3 separate regions of the Homo sapiens genome follow, and regions 1 and 2 are each linked to region 3. The links are contacts of gene promoters, found by promoter capture Hi-C in blood cells and fetal thymus (Javierre and others, 2016). All regions are on one chromosome and are shown on one strand. Each heading gives the region's core, a stretch centred on a gene start or on the middle of the fragment in contact. The rest is flanking DNA. Distances are from core to core; before and after follow the strand shown.

The links. The method cuts DNA at HindIII sites, captures the fragments that hold promoters and counts their contacts. A CHiCAGO score of 5 or more calls a contact.
Region 1: the fragment with the promoter of F2R here is called in contact with the fragment with the promoter of S100Z in region 3 in 13 of 17 cell types (monocytes, erythroblasts, M0 macrophages and 10 more); the score reaches 10.5 in monocytes.
Region 2: a contact is called between the fragment with the promoter of F2RL2 here and the fragment with the promoter of S100Z in region 3, in 4 of 17 cell types (endothelial precursors, neutrophils, monocytes and 1 more). The highest score is 8.2, in endothelial precursors.

What each region holds. Positions count from the first base shown.
Region 1 is chr5:76,713,995-76,717,415 of GRCh38, reverse strand. It overlaps F2R (coagulation factor II thrombin receptor), which reads right to left and starts at 1,290. Exons shown (of 2, transcript NM_001992.5): 1 at 1,021-1,290. The coding sequence starts at 1,108. RefSeq lists a silencer at 1,235-1,484. The HindIII fragment of the contact is 2,891 bases long and covers 47-2,937 here.
Region 2 is chr5:76,621,737-76,624,967 of GRCh38, reverse strand. F2RL2 (coagulation factor II thrombin receptor like 2) reads left to right here and starts at 1,565. Exons shown (of 2, transcript NM_004101.4): 1 at 1,565-1,801. The coding sequence starts at 1,738. The region is part of intron 13 of IQGAP2 (IQ motif containing GTPase activating protein 2); the gene reads right to left. RefSeq lists a silencer at 1,490-1,784. The HindIII fragment of the contact is 2,136 bases long and covers 745-2,880 here.
Region 3 is chr5:76,848,529-76,851,618 of GRCh38, reverse strand. S100Z (S100 calcium binding protein Z) reads right to left here and starts at 1,605. Exons shown (of 5, transcript NM_130772.4): 1 at 1,464-1,605. The HindIII fragment of the contact is 3,987 bases long and covers 1-2,185 here.

The sequences.
Region 1 (3,421 bases), core at 41-2,540, 130 kb after region 3:
AAACCCGCTAGAACTTCTTTCAGCGTAAAAAAAATGGCTCAAAGCTTATAAAATACTATTGTTATTAGGAAATTCAAAAACACTTTTCTCACTTTCTAATTAGCGCCTTTACAGGCTAAAAACAACTCATCTGTGCTGCTCTTGGGGAAAGGGATACAGAAAATATTTGACCAAATAAATTAATCAAATTTATTTATTTGGTCAAGTGGCCAGATACTTAAAAATAGACTACTAGTGGGGAAAATATTCTAGGGGAGCAACCTTCTTGCAGTGGATCAGAAATCTCGTTAAGAAATACTGGGATCCCACAGTGTTCGAGGGAGCCCGGTCCTGGGGAGGGATCTCTCTCTTCAACTCACTTAGAAGGAATGGGTTCTAGGTAACAACAAAATCCTCTCCATGTCCCCTCCCCCGCCACCACGCGGAGCCTCTGCTATTGTCACCATATATCTCGCACCCTGCGCACCTCCTGGACACAAGGCCGGGCCGGGGGCTGCTGGTACTGATTCTCTGCTAAACATGCCAAGGGACTGCCTGGGCTTTTCTCTACATCACTTTTCTCGCCTGTAAAATGTGCAAGAAAAAAACTTCCAACAAAGCAAAACTTCAGCGGCAGCGGTTCGCCACTTTATATTTTAAAGATCGAAACGTTTATTGGTGGAGCAACGTGAGAGCTTTTCTTTTTGGGGGTGGTCCTGGGAGAAACACAATGACAAGTGCAACGCAGGACTGCAGGCTCCCCCAGGGGGCTTCCGCTCCATCCTCCTCCATATCCAACACCCCGTGGCAGGCGGGCTGCACCCTCCAAGATCGAGTCCAAAGGGGCATCGGCTGGGCCCGCGAAGGGGGTGGCACGCCCCACCTAAACGTGACTGGAAAAAACTCCAGATCTCAGCCCAAATGCCAGTTTGGCTTTCGGAGGAAACTGAGGCAGGGGTGAGGAGAAGGCGCAACAGTGACCCCCGCAGTCTCCCCTCGGCGTCCCTCCGCCCGCGCACCCCATTCCCGTGCATCTCTCACCTGGCCTGCGGGCCCGGGTGCGGGCAGACAACAGCGGGCCGCACAGACTGAAGCAGGCGGCCACCAGCAGCAGCCGCCGCGGCCCCATTGTCCCGGGCTCTGCGCGGCGCTGCTCCGGGAGGCTGCCCCGCCTCGGGCTGCTCCGCTTCACCCTCTCTCCTGACTTCTGCGGGTCGGGGAGCCGGTCTTCGCGGCAGGCAGAGCGCAGGGTGCCCACGGGTAAGATCAGGGTCCAAGCGACCCTCGGCGAGCGCTGTGTCTGGGGCGGTTAGCGGGGCGGGGCGGGACTGGGGCGCGCGGTCGCGCGGGCGCGAGCGAGGAAGGGCGCCCTCCGGCGTGCAGTGAGAGTCTCTGCGCTGGAGCCGCTCGGCGCCCCCTCCCCGCGGTCCCTCAGCCGCCGCTCGCAAGCCCCTCTGGCTCTGTGCGCCCCGCCCCGCCCCGCCCTGCCCTACTGGGGGGCCCTGGCCGCCGGCCACTGCCGGGCCTAGAAGTCCAAATGAGAAGTTTTTTCCTCTGGGCACCGTTGATTCGCGAAGCTGTCAGTGACTCACACTGGCGGGGTCCTTGGAATGGGGCCGCACGGCTCGCAGGCTGCTTCCCGCGGCCGTCTCGACCCTCCTGGGATGTGGAGACGTCGACAGTGGACGCCCCGGCCAGGATGCGTCCACGCCCTGCAGCCCCGCAGCCCTGGCGTGGCCTCCCGTCCTCCCTCCCTCCGTGTGGGACACCGGCAAAGTTCAGTTTTCGCTAAAAGTCTAAAAGGGACTTCTGCTTTTGTAACGTGGGGATCACGGATTTAAAAGTTTATGATGTAGTGACAGGGTTGCCCCTAAATGAGAAAGGGCCCTTGAGTCTGGACAGAATTCTTGAACTTTTATACGTCTCTCTTTATTTCGCGAAGTTAGGCGTTTCATACGCCGGGCACTCGTTTCCCCCACACGCAGACTGCGAGTGGAATAGGAAGAGCGGCTTCTCCCGCTTCCCCCCCGCGCGGCCTCGCGGAGCTCTTCCCTTTCCCGCGCCGCCCGCCGGGGTCACCTGCGCATCTGGGAGGAGGGCGCGCGTCTGCCGGTGAGGCCGGCGTTCTAGGGCCGCGGGCGCCCAGGAGAGAAATGGCCTGGTAACTTTCCAAGTGTCCTTCACACGTTCTTGAACGATATTACAGTTTGTTTTGTTTTTGAGGCAGGGTCTTGCCCTGTCGCCCAGGCTGGAGTGCAGTGGCGCCAACACGGCTCACTGCAGCCTCGATCTCCCTGGCTCAGGCCACCCTTTCGCCCCAGCCTCCGGATTACCTGGGACCACAGAAAGGCGCGCGCCACCATGTCCGGCTAATTTCACTGCTGGCCTCAAGCGATCCTCCTGCCTCAGCCTCCTAAAGTGCGGGGATTACAGGCGTGAATCACCGCGCCAGGCCTGATATTAAAGGAGTTTGGCTAAATTCAAGGCACAGGGCGGGGACACTCGCTTGGCAGTCTGCTAAGGGCCCCCAGGGGCGTCGCGGCTGGGGGTGGGCAGGAGGAGCCTGCAGCTTAAGTTGCTTTGCCACTGGCTCTGGTGCGTGCGCCTTTCAGACTCCAACAGGAAATGGGTCCCCAAATAGCTGTTTCTAGGAAAGCTCAGCCGCAGCCCCTTCTCCTCTTAACCCAGCGCACTGATGTGCGGGCATATTCGGAGTTCTGTGGTTGATAAGCTGCAGCTGAGAGCCGGTGGTCAGTTTTCTAAGCCTTTTTTAAAAGTGAATTTCGCACGAAGAGTATCATTCCCCCACTAGAGCCCGGACACTTACATCCGTGGAGAAAGTACGATCAGAGGCGATTTCGTTCTTCCCTGTATTCTCCCATCATCCTCAAAGGACAGTACCTTGTTGTACACAGAAGTTGATCACTAAATTGCGGAAGTACCCAGTTAAATAAAGCTTTTTAAAATCTATCCCCGTTCAGTTATCCTCTGGAAACATACCCAAGAGTAAATGTGAACAGTTAAAATTACATAGTTCTTCATTCACTATTAAACTATTTTTCATTATTCCTAAGACGTCATTGATTTTACAATTTATCATTTTAACCCATTACCACAAGCCAGAAAAAAATGTGACATACCAATGATTGTAAGAAACACTCCAATTTCAGGGTTATGAAGAAAAGGCATTTTAGAATCAATGAAACACAGTGGAAAATATAAACACATATGACAAAATTTCTGATAGTTGAAGGATATGAAATGAAAAATAAATTACCTTCTGCCTCCCCTCCCCTAGTTGCCATCTGACCACTAAGTTTCCCCTCCTTCCTTCCTTCCTTCCTTCCTTCCTTCCTTCCTTCCTTCCTCCCTCCCTCTCTTCCTTCCTTCCTTCCTCTCTTCCTTCCTTCCTCTCTCTCTCTCTCTGTCTTTCTTATTTTCT
Region 2 (3,231 bases), core at 316-2,815, 230 kb after region 3:
CAAGTAGCTGGGATAACAGGCGCCCGCCACCACGCTCAGCTAATTTTTGCATTTTTAGTAGAGATGGGGTTTCACCATGTTGGTCAGGCTGGTCTCAAACTCCTGACCTCAAGTGATCCCCCCACCTCAGCCTTACAAAGTGCTGGGATTACAGGCATGAGCCACTGTGCCCAGCCAAGTCTGCTTTTTCAGTTGTTCACCAGAAGACTGAAAATAATAGTATATTTATGGGACGGCCACACCTCCACTTCAGTTAAACAGCCAGGTTCAACATAAGAGTTACAAATGAATTAAATGACCAGAAACTAGGCCATGTGCAAATCAAGTCATAAATTCCTGAATTTAGATAACTCCCAGAAAAGTTCTAATGAAACAAAAAAAACCTTTGTCAATATTTTAGGTTTTATATTTCTGCAATATAATAACATTCTATCTCAGTTTGTATAACCATATATTATGTAGTTGAAGTATTAAACACTGACCTTTGTAAAAATCTTGGTCTAATGTAATTTAATCAAGATGTGAAAGGTTTCCGCAGATCAATTTCTTCCTAGCATATCCCTAGCCTTTAAGTCTCATGTGAAATTTGTATTTTCTGATTCTTGCTGCATTTTGTAAAGAGCAGGCTGTGGGATGGTCAGGCTTCAAGTTTAAGTTTTATTAACTACAGAAAAATGTGTTATAATGCATTTTTTTACTGTATATTAAGTCATACTCTACAGAATATAACAATTCATAAAAGCTTATATGTTGTACAACAATGTGAATGTATTTAACATTACTGAACTGTACACTTAATACTGGTTAAGATAGTAAATTTTATGTTACGTATATTTTACCACTATTAAAAATATCTTATTGTAGACTTATTCACCAACACTCATGGAATAAAGGGAGTCCTCATTTTCATGATGTGCTATGATTTTAGTTTAACTGAACAGCGTTGTTTGGGAGGTTCCTCCAGTTATCTGACCCTAAGGGTTATTGAATGGCTCAAAACACATCAAGATAAGGCAAAAAAAAAAAAAAAAGCCTGAACAAACGCCATCCTCACCCGGCGAAGAAAAACCACCACCACTCAAAAGCCAGGTTCTGGCCAGGCACTGACGACAAACTGAAATCAATATTACATTGATGGAAAATTTTCAAAGTGATTCACCGCTCAATTTGAATTTCTTAAAAGTTTGTTTTCCATGATTAATTTATAATTATGTAAAGTGTTTAAGGATTAAGATTTGAAATAGCTGGGAAGATAAAGGAAAGGATAATTTATTAAGTAGAAATTACACTCTGGAACTGCATTTTTAAAACGGATAAGAAATGAAATGTGGGACAGATTCAAAACTTACTGCTGTTCAACATCTGTTTTTGGCTTAGTTCTGTAAAGGCCTGTGTAATTTCTGCCATTCTTTAAAAGCAAATCTACTAGGGGAGAATTACAGCACCTATTCAGAATAGATTGTTGGGGGTGGGTAAGAGTTAAATGCCTTTCTCCAGGGATAACGTAACACGTTCAGAGGCTTGGCCTGAGTCATGCTTACTGAAGCATCGAGTGGATTACATCCTTTCCCTGCGGAGGACCAGGGCAAGTTTCCTGCCTGCACGGCACAGGAGAGCAAACTTCTACAGACAGACCAAGGCTTCCATTTGCTGCTGACACATGGAACTGAGGTGAAATTGTGCTCCATGATTTTACAGATTTCATAACGTTTAAGAGACGGGACTCAGGTCATCAAAATGAAAGCCCTCATCTTTGCAGCTGCTGGCCTCCTGCTTCTGTTGCCCACTTTTTGTCAGAGTGGTAAGCAATTTTCTCAGGGGGTAGGATGGGGATGTGGGTTTCTGTTACAAATTAAGAGTCAACTGAACCTAGGTTTCTTTGCATCTCACACAAACTGTAAACCCCAAAGGCAGTTTGATCTTTATTATTAAAAGGTAGAATCATGGAAATGAACATCTATAGTTCATTCACTCTATTCAAACCTGGTCATAGACTAAGTGTTCCCTCCTGATGTTTAAAAATGTGTGGCATATTCAAGATTTTAGATGTCTACGATTAAGTCAGGGAGCAATTTTGAAAGTCGTTTTTGTGTTTGTAAGAATTTCTCTTCTGGTTAAGCAAAGATGGCACTTTTTCTAGGGATTAAAATATATATCCTGTGTTTAAACCTCTTGGTGAGACATAAATGGGAGAAACAAGAATACTGCCAGAAAGAGAAAGTCATCTGCTTTCAATAGCTGGCAATGCTAATAAGTCAGTATTTCCGAAATGAATGACCTTTTTTGACTTTAAGTGGGGAGTTCTCCCTACCCTCATATATGATTTTTTAATTTTAAAAATAAGGTCTCCCAAATACTATTATTCAACTTTGAATGTACTTTCCACTTTACCCATCACAATGTTAGCCTGAAACCTCCTGCTTTTTCCAAAAATAACAAATTTGGGATAGGTCTGTACCTGTTACTCTTTGTTAGGTCACACACTCCAGTCAACATTGTTAGGAGTGGGAGAGGCAAAGACTGGACATAGCAAGGGAAACAAAAACAGAAATCAATGCTTTCTAAAGGAACATTGCTTAAATTCACATTTGGAATCCCTGAGCGGTTGCAGAGAGCTCTAAGAGAATCTGTGGTGATTAGCAGTAAGCACATGTGGGATTTATGAATATAATAAGTGCACGCTCTTTCTGGGAGTAGATGGGCCAATATGTTGAGAAGCAGAATTGCAAAAGAAGCAAGGTTTTCGGGGGTGGTTCCTTCAAGACGCTAATAGGGTTTGATGGAGGTGAAAACGGGGGCCTCTGAAGGAAACAAAGAGGCAGTGAATTTGCTTTCTTCCATGGGGTGGGGGAGAAATGTGAAGGAAGAATGAAGCAAGCTTGTCCAACCTGCCTTATTTCGTTGTGGTTTTGTTTTGTTTTAGGCTTTTAGCAGCCTGAAGCCATGGTTTTTAGTTTCTGTCTCTAGAGGTAAATGGAAAAGAGGGATGAGGAAGGGGCTTTACTGGCTCAACTAGAAACAGAAACTATGAATCCATGACTGTATTCTCTCCCTTGGACACCCCTGAGAGGCCGGAGTTCATTCTCTTTGGATTAGTTCTTCAAGGCCTTTTCCCGGATAGAAAAACATTTCCGAAATATTATGCCCAATGGAAGCCTCTATAAAGAATTAAAATACAATAAAAAAATTTAACAATGAGTACAATTCATAAGGAAAACCAGGCTCTGAGGA
Region 3 (3,090 bases), core at 356-2,855:
AGGGGATCCCCTTTTTTTGCTGCTCCAGTCAACAGCAATACCCTCATTCACCCAACTGCATGGCCAGAAACCTGAGTATGATGCTATTCCTGGCCCCTCTCTCTCTCTCATGCAATCAGTTGCCAGGTTGTATCTCCTCACTCTCTGTTCCTTCCTCCTCAACCCTAGCGCCATAGTTCAGGCCCTTGTCACTTCTGGCCTGAATTACTGCATGAGATCCCAACTCACCTCCTGCACCTACTTTGCTCTTCTTCAAAATTAGCCTCCCCTGCCTGCTGGGAGGCACACCTGAGCTCCTCACTTAACCTCCTGGACAGGCCCTGCCATCCCCTGGCTAAATCTAAACTCCCCGCAGTGTGCCCACCCATCCCCTCTGCACCATCTGTGCCGCACACGTGGCACTGCCACTGTGCTGCCCATTCCTCTGCTCAGGTGCCAGTCCTCCAGGGAAGCCTCCGATGCCCCTCAGCTCCTGGGAGCACTCCGCCTCTGGGTGCCCCTGTATCACCTCATGCTTTCCTCTAGACCTGCACCGGCACTGGGTTGAAGGAAAATAATAGTAGCCAACGTTAATTAGCACATACTCTGGGCCAAGCACCCTTCTAGGCAGTTTAAATGTATTCCTTTATGTCATCCTCAAAAATCCCATGAGGAGGCTGGGGAGCGGTGGCTCATGCCTGTAATCGCAGCACTTTGGGAAGCCAAGTGGGAGGTGGAGGTTGCAGTGAGCTGAGATCACACCACTGCACTCCAGCCTGGGTGACAGAGTGAAACTCCATCTCAGAAAAAAACAAAAAACAAAAAAAACTTTATTTCTCTGTCTAACCCAAATTTTGTGTCCTCTCACCAACTTCTCCCCAGCCCCTCCATCCCTCTTCCCTCTCTTCTTCTGTAGGCTGAGAGCAGCCATTCCAGGGCTGATTGTCCAGGCATGCCCAGCACTGGCCAGTGTGAAGAGGAGGAGCATAGACCACTGCTGTGACTTCCTGGGAGTGGGCTTACACTGGCATCTGTGCAGGCTTCAGGAAAAAGAAGCGAAATCACGGCGTGGATCTAAGGGGCCAAGCCTCACCTTGAAGGTTCTTCTGGGTCTTTGGCCTGGACAAGAACATGAAACTTGAATTTCTCAAGGTGAGGTGAAGGCCAAGCAGGAAGCCAGGATGGTCACCAGGAAAGGAGCCAGAATGAACTAAGTGTTCTTTAGGGCAAGGAACTTACCAGAACCTCTACGCTCCGAGCTATGATCAGGCTGCTCTCTCCCTCTCTCTCTCTCTCTCTCTCTCCCCCACCCCCCCGACCCCTTTGTGGCCAAGGTAAGGCCACATTTTAGAGTGGAAGCCCCAAGGCAACCCCCCACCTCACAACCTCCACTCTTGTTGCCCTCTCTAATCCAACGCCTGCCAGGCTCACACTTCAACCACTAGACTGAAAAGCAAGAATCTTCCACAAAAATAATCTTTTACCTTAGACCTGCTTCCTGTGCAGATGAGATAAGGAGAATGCTCTTGTCTGAATTTCTGGGCGTGGAGATTAGCAAGCCGTTTTCCTCCCAGCAGCTAGAGCGAGCAAGAGGCCCTGCTGTGAGTAGTGCTGTTCTGAGTCTGCGTGGTCCAGACTCACCACACTGCAGGCACGTTTCTTCATCAGGTGGGAAAGCAGGAAGAGGTTTAATTTAGGACCTAAAGCTGGTATATTGCTGAGTAAAAGAAATGGGAAGGCACCAAGTCTCTAACGAAATTGCGCTGGGTGCAGTGGCTCATGCCTCTAATCCCAGCACTTTGAGAGGCTGAGGTGGGTGGATCACTTGCGGTCAGGAGTTTGAGACCAGCCTGGTCAACGTGGCGAAACCCCATCTCTACTAAAAATATAAAAATTAGCCAGGCATGGTGGCGGGCGCCTGTAATTCCAGCTACTCGTGAGGCTGAAGCAGGAGAACGCTTGAACCTGAGAGGCAGAGGTTGTAGTGAGCTGAGCTCGCCGCTGCCCTCCAGACTAGGTGACAGAGCCAGATTCCGTCTCAAAAAAACAAAAAAAAAAGAAAAAGAAACTGCTTGTGATCCAACACTCCCCCACTGGTGCCTCCTCATGGTGAAGAGCAATTACTCTGGCACCAGAGTCTTGGGGTTCAAATCCTTACTTCACCAGTATGTGACTGGAAAAGCTACCTAACCTGCCTGCTGAAGCTTCATGGCTAATAATTCCTCACAGCATTTCTTTTTTTCTTTTTTTTTTTTGAGACAGAGTCTTGCTCTGTCACCCAGGCTGGAGTGCAGTGGCATCATCTCAGCTCACTGCAACCTCCACCTCCCTGGTTCAAGCTTCTGCCTCAGCCTCCCAAGTAGCTGAGATTACAAGCGCCCACCACTAAGCCTGGCTAATTTTTGTATTTTCAGTAGAGATGGGGTTTCACCATGTTGGTGAGGCTGGTCTTGAATTCCTGACCTCAAGTGATCCGCCCACCTTGGCCTCCCAATGTGCTGGGATTATAGGCGTGAGACACTGCGCCTGGCCCAGGAGGAATAAGTTTAAGAGCTCCCATTGTACAGCATGCTATCTATAGTTAATAACAATATATCGTGTATCGAAAATTGCTAAGACAGTAGATGTTAAGTGTCTTTATCACCCCCAAAAAATGACAAGTATATGGGGCAATTAAGTCAAATAGCTTGACTTAATAATTCCACAATGTATACATAAATTAAAACATCAAGCTGTATTTGTATACCATAATATATACAATTTTTACTTGTCAATTAAATAAATAAATACACAGAAAAGGGCAGAGACAGGTCAAGAAGCACAGCACTCAGTACAGAAATACAGATAACAATATATTGAAAGAAAGAATTCAAAGATAAATTTTTTTTTTTTTTTTTTGGAGACAGAGTCTTGCTCCATTGCCTAGGGTAGAGTACAGAGACACAATCACAGCTCTCTGCAACCTCAACCTCCCAGGCTCAAGTGATCCTCCCACTTCAGCCTCCCAAATAGCTAGGACTGCAGGGTATGCCACCACAACCTGGCTAATACTTGTATTTTTTTGTAGAGATGGGGTTTCACCATGTTGCTTGCCCAGTCTAGTCTTGAACT